Regions from separate parts of the Homo sapiens genome. Here region 1 is linked to region 2. Evidence: promoter capture Hi-C in human tissues and cell types (Jung and others, 2019). All regions are on one chromosome and are shown on one strand. Each heading gives the region's core, a stretch centred on a gene start or on the middle of the fragment in contact. The rest is flanking DNA. Distances are from core to core; before and after follow the strand shown. Region 1 overlaps BRPF3 (bromodomain and PHD finger containing 3). Region 2 holds the start of MAPK13 (mitogen-activated protein kinase 13).

Region 1 (2,700 bases), core at 188-2,687, 79 kb before region 2:
CCCTCAGCTTTGCTCCTGGAGTCTACCTATAGCCCCAAGGACCACCCTGATCCCTCACTCTGTAGACTCTGTTCCTGTGCCTCCTCCTGGCCCCTCTCCTCCCCACCCATCCAGGCCTCTCACCGTCTTCCCAGGAGAAGCGGTAAAAGTCTTCCAATTTGGGTGACTCGGGCAGGTGAGTGCCCCTCTCGGGGTCATAGCCGATGTTCTCTGCCTGCCGCCGGGCGTGCCGTAGGATGGCCCCTCCCAGGTCCCGCAGGCGGACAGCTGCTCGGTGGAAAATTGTGTCTTTAGCATTATACTTCATGCAGTTGGTAACTATAAGGTTAAAGTCCTCCTCAAACTCCTCCAAGGTGCGGTACAGGTGGGACTCCAGCTTCCGCCTCATAGTAGAAAAATCCATTGGCTTGGATATGAATTCCAGGTAATCTGGAACCTAAACATATAAAACCTGTACAATTACAACAACCATTTACTAGCCAAACAGACACACCCTTCACCAATACTCTTGGCCTCCTCAATTTCTGATTTGGCCATGCCAGGCTAACTCAAAGACCTACAGTCCTGGCCCACCCTGGCCTGCTGACCCCTCATCAAGGGCAAGTCTACTAGCTTTGCCAGACCCACCCTCCTACCCCTGGTTTTGTACACCCTGTGGCCCAACTCCTTCCTAGCCTACTCAGACCCTGTTCCAGTTCAAGAAGAATTTACTACTTGGAAAGTAGGGGGAACTTGCCTCACTCAAGTTGACTGGTTCTGCGAAGATGTGTGCAGGATCCTTCTCCTGCAGCAGGTCCAGTGTTGTCCTCAACAGAACATTGAATGGCATCAGCTCCAGCTCCATGGCAGCCTGCTGGACTTTGACCTGTGGGGAAGGTGGGGTGAGATCAGATCAGAACATCCCCTGCAAAGATGTACTGAAACTTTTTCTTGATAGTTTGACTTTTACCAATCTTGTACAACAAATTTTCATAGAATATTAAGCTGACCAGTATATGAGAAGCTATCACCCAACCTTTAGCCTAGGAATAATGACACCAACAGCTACTATTTTATTATTGTTTCCTATGTACCAAACATCATACTAAAATTTACAGTAACAATAATAATTATCATTACAATTATAATCATTAACACTTCTATAGCCCTTACTAAATGCCAGGTAATGTTCTAAGCATTTTATGTAAAATAAATGAGTATATGAGGTAGGAACAGATGAGGTATTTTACAAAGAGGAAACCAAGTAACTAAGGAACTAGGAGGAAACTAGAGGAAACTAAGTAACTGGCCTAAAGTCATAGCTAATAAGGAGCAGAGTTGGGATTCAGTCCCAGTGATTCTACAGTGAGTGCTCTTGGCCATTATGCCACACTAACTCTGTACTTGTATTACCTCAATTAATCATCACGATAACCCTGAAACAGAAATTATTATCCCCATTTTACAAATATGGATCAGAACAAGGATCACCAAGGACTAAAAGAAAAAAAATACAAATTAAAAAAATGTATATGGAATCTGAGGTTTAGAGACAGCATGATGAAGGAGTTACTAGTCTAAGGTCATCTGTCTAGAAAAGAATAGAGATAGGATTTGAACCCAGGTCTGACTTAGTCCAAGGGACACAATGATGATGTAAAATGTGCTTGAACCAGAATTTCCCAGTGTGCTGAGATACTGATTCCATCAGCCCTTGGAGCATCTGGGTCAGCATGGGGTCACCAGGGCCTCCAGGCTTGCCCCCGCAAGTGGCAAGTAGCTTCATATACTTACAGTAGTATGCTGTACAAATGCTATTTTCTACATATGCCCTAATGTGAAAAGTTGGGAAGCCACAAATTAAGACTATAGAAAATTTCCACCTTTTGGCTATATCAAAACAGGCCTGCCTACTTCCCCAGGACCAGGCCTTCTTCTCTCTCTCATTTCTCTGAACCAGAGATGAGATGAGAAGTTCAGCTGTGGGATCATGCCTGGGACAGCACAGACATTTTGAACCCTTGAAGAAGGTCCTGAGATGTCCTCCATGGCCATCCATGGTAAATATGGCATGAGCTGCCCAGGCTATGAGGAGGAAACTCAGGCTACTGGCCTGCTAGAAAAGGGGTTGTGCTAAGGCTGACCACTGAATTAGAATTTGGAGAAAGAGAAAGAAACATCTTTTTTTTTTCCCCTTTTTGTGGAGAACAGGTCTTGCTTTGTTGCCCTGGCTCATCTCAAACTCCTGGACTCAACCTATCCTCCTGCCTCTGCTTCCCTAAATGCAGGGATTACAGGCATGAGCCACTGTGCCCGGCAAGAAAGGAACATCTTTAACCCTGGCCTCTGAAGCATGTGAGTGACAGCTGCTATTCCTAGACCAGAGAGAACAGTTTTGGCTTTTCATCCACTTAATTAACAGTATTTGCTCTCTGCCATGTGCAGTAGACACTTCAGAGAAGCAAAGAGTATTGATAATAATAATAATGACAGCAGCTGACATTTCTCTGGCTGTTACTATGTGCCAGGCACTGTTCTAAGCTCTTTACATGATGAAGTCATCTAATCCTCAAAACAACCTTATGATGTAGGCTCTATAATTACCCCCATATTCCAGGTGAGAAAACCAATGTATTAAGCGATTAAAGAATTTGCTTAATGTCATACAGGTAGTCTGTAGAAGAGGCAGGATTTCAACCCAGGCAGTCTGGTGCCATAGCT
Region 2 (2,700 bases), core at 165-2,664:
GATTGAAACCCCAGCTCTGCTACTGACTAACCATCTAATCTGTGAGCCTTGCTGTGCTTTAGTTTCCTGTCTGTGACATGGGGGCAGTAGTACTCATATATCATGAGGACTAGACAAGTTAGTGTATGCAGAGCTCTTAGAACATAGGAAGTGCTCAATATGTGTATATTGCTATTGTTATCAGGGTCACGTGGACACAACGCTAACTAGGATTCTAGTCCCAGCTGGCCACAAGCTCTCAGACATGGAACCAATTACAAAGTTCCCCTGTGCCAATTTCCTCTGTAGGATAACACAGTCTGTACCTCACAAAGTGCATTCTGCCAAAAATACCCTTTGACCTCTTCCTGGAAAGTGGGCAGGGAAGGTCTCGGCACCCCCTCCTTTCAATAGTGAGGCGAGAGGCACCGTCAGGGGAGCAGGGAGGAGACTGTCCCGAGCTCTCCATACCGGGAGGCCCCGCCTGCGCCTGCCCCTGACTCCCCAGGGCAGCCCCCACCCCCTCCCCGGGGCAGCCACCACCTACGTTCTCATGCTGCATGTGCTTCAGCAGCAGCAGCTCCCGGTAGGCGCGCTTGGCGAAGATCTCGGACTGAAAGGGTCGGCTCAGCTTCTTGATGGCCACCTTCTCCCCTGACCGCTTGTCGATGGCCGAGCTGTCGGGCACAGGCCGGTCAGCAGGCGAGGCTCTCCTCCTGGGCCGTATCTCCCAGACCGCCCTGACCCCTCCCACTGGGCAGCTGGGCTGAGAGGGGACTAGGCCCACCACCTAGAATATGGGGGAGCCGCGGGACGCAGGGCAGGGAGTAGGAAGCCAGGCAGGAGCTGAGAGAGGGGCACAGCGCCAGGGGCAGCAACGTCTCATTGCGACGGGATCCACGGCAGGGCGGGAGTCTCACTCTGTCTGCAACTTGGCGAGCCACCTCCCCCTCTTGGGGCCTCGGTGTACTCGTCTGTAACAGTGAGGATCTGCCCGATGAACTCTGGGGTCTTGCAAGTGTACAGTCCTGGAGAACCAGGCCCAGTCCCAACTCAACCCCCAGAGACCTCACTCAGCCACTCGGTGAGAAAAGGGAGATGGCCGCTGGGTGGCCCCGGGGAGGGCGCTGGGCCTTGAGGTCCGCGGTCAAGGTGGCGCTGGCGAGGGGCCAGCCCAGGGCGGGCTGGGCGGAAAGGGGAGAGCCTGGCGCCCGCCCCCCGCCCCCCAGCGGCCCAGGGGTCTCACCACACGGAGCCATAGGCCCCGCTGCCGACGTGCGTCGGGGACACGTAGGTCTTGGGCAGCTCCCAGGCTGTCTTGTTGACGTCCTGCTTGTAGAAGCCCTTTTTCCGGATGAGGCTCATCCCGGGCACCCGATCTCGGCGGCCCCAGCGTGGCGGCTGCGTTCGCGGCCCAACGGGCTCCCAGCGCCCCGACCCCCGCTGCGCCCGCCCCGCGCCGCCCGCTCCTCCCCCGCGCGAGGGCGGGGGCCCCGGGCTGCTACGCTCCCACCTGCCGGCTCGCCCAGGTGCGCCGGGGCCGCCACGCCCGGGCCTGTCCAGCCCTGCGCTCCCGCGCTTCCGCCCGGCCCGACGGAGCCACTGCGGCAGGTGCGGCCCAGGCACGGGGTCGGGGCTGCCCAGCGGGACCCCGGTGCCTCCCAGCCGAGCGCGGGCCAGCGGCGGGGCTGGTGGGTCCAAGCAGGAGCGGGGAGGCAGTGCTTCCCAGTTCCCTCCAGCCCCGGTCTCCGTAGGAAGAGCTCCCTGTGACTGTGAACACACAGGAAAGCAGAACAAAACCCCACAACCTCTTCATTATGGAAAATGTCAAACATGCAGGAAAGAATTGAACAGAGTAAGCCAGCGCTTCTCACACTTCAGTGTGCTCAGGAATCCCCTGGGCATTTTATTTGATTAAAATACAGATCCTGACTCAGTAGGTTTGGGGTGGAGCCGAGATTCTGCATTTCTAGCCAGCTCCCAGGTCTGAGGCTTCTGAACCACATCTGATAGGAGGTTCTAATGAACCCCCGTGACCCCAATTCCCCAGCAACCACAACTCATAATCAATTTTATTTCATCCACATTCCTCTCCCACCATCGTTTTGAAGCAAAACCCAGGCGTCATATCATTTTATTCATAAATATTTTTGTATCTCTAAAACGTAAGGATTTTTAAAAGTACGTATCCACAATACTATATATATATATTTTTTGAGACTCTGTCGGAGTGCAGTTGCCATCTCGGCTCACTGCAACCTCCGCCTCCCGGGTTCAAGCAATTCTCTGCCTCCGCCTCCCGATTAGCTAGGATTGTAGGTGCCTGCCACCAAACCCGGCTAATTTTTGTATTTTTAATAGAGATGGGGTTTCACCATCTTGGCCAGGCTGGTCTTGAACTCCTGACCTCGTGAACCACCCGCCTCGGCCTCCGAAAGTGTTGGGATTACAGGCGTGAGCCACCGCGCCTGGCCCACAATACATTCTTAAACCTAAAATTAATAGCACTAATTCTATAATACCAAATATCCACGCAGGTTCAAATGTGCAGGATTTTTGTTTGTTTTTGACATGGAGTCTCACTCTATTGCCTAGGCTGGAGTGCAGTGGCGCCATCTCAGCTCACTGCAACCTCCGCCTCCCAGGTTCAAGCAATTCTCTTGCCTCAGCCTCCTGAGTAGCTGGGACTACAGGTGCACACCACCACTCCTAGCTAATTTT

Evidence for each region. The method cuts DNA at HindIII sites, captures the fragments that hold promoters and counts their contacts. A contact is called where the count stands out against the background at its distance.
Region 1: a fragment that was not itself captured here is called in contact with the fragment with the promoter of MAPK13 in region 2 in 8 of the 25 tissues and cell types used here (H1 embryonic stem cells, adrenal gland, bladder and 5 more).

The regions. Positions count from the first base shown.
Region 1 is chr6:36,207,952-36,210,651 of GRCh38, reverse strand. It overlaps BRPF3 (bromodomain and PHD finger containing 3), which reads right to left. Exons shown (of 13, transcript NM_015695.3): 5 at 737-865; 6 at 124-436. Among named protein-coding and RNA genes, the nearest start is that of BRPF3-AS1, 12 kb to the right of the region's middle. The HindIII fragment of the contact is 5,603 bases long and covers 1-2,700 here.
Region 2 is chr6:36,129,227-36,131,926 of GRCh38, reverse strand. MAPK13 (mitogen-activated protein kinase 13) reads right to left here and starts at 1,414. Exons shown (of 12, transcript NM_002754.5): 1 at 1,226-1,414; 2 at 527-656. The coding sequence starts at 1,344. RefSeq lists silencers at 409-518, 1,159-1,228, 1,269-1,518 and enhancers at 649-768, 660-1,263. The HindIII fragment of the contact is 28,110 bases long and covers 1-2,700 here.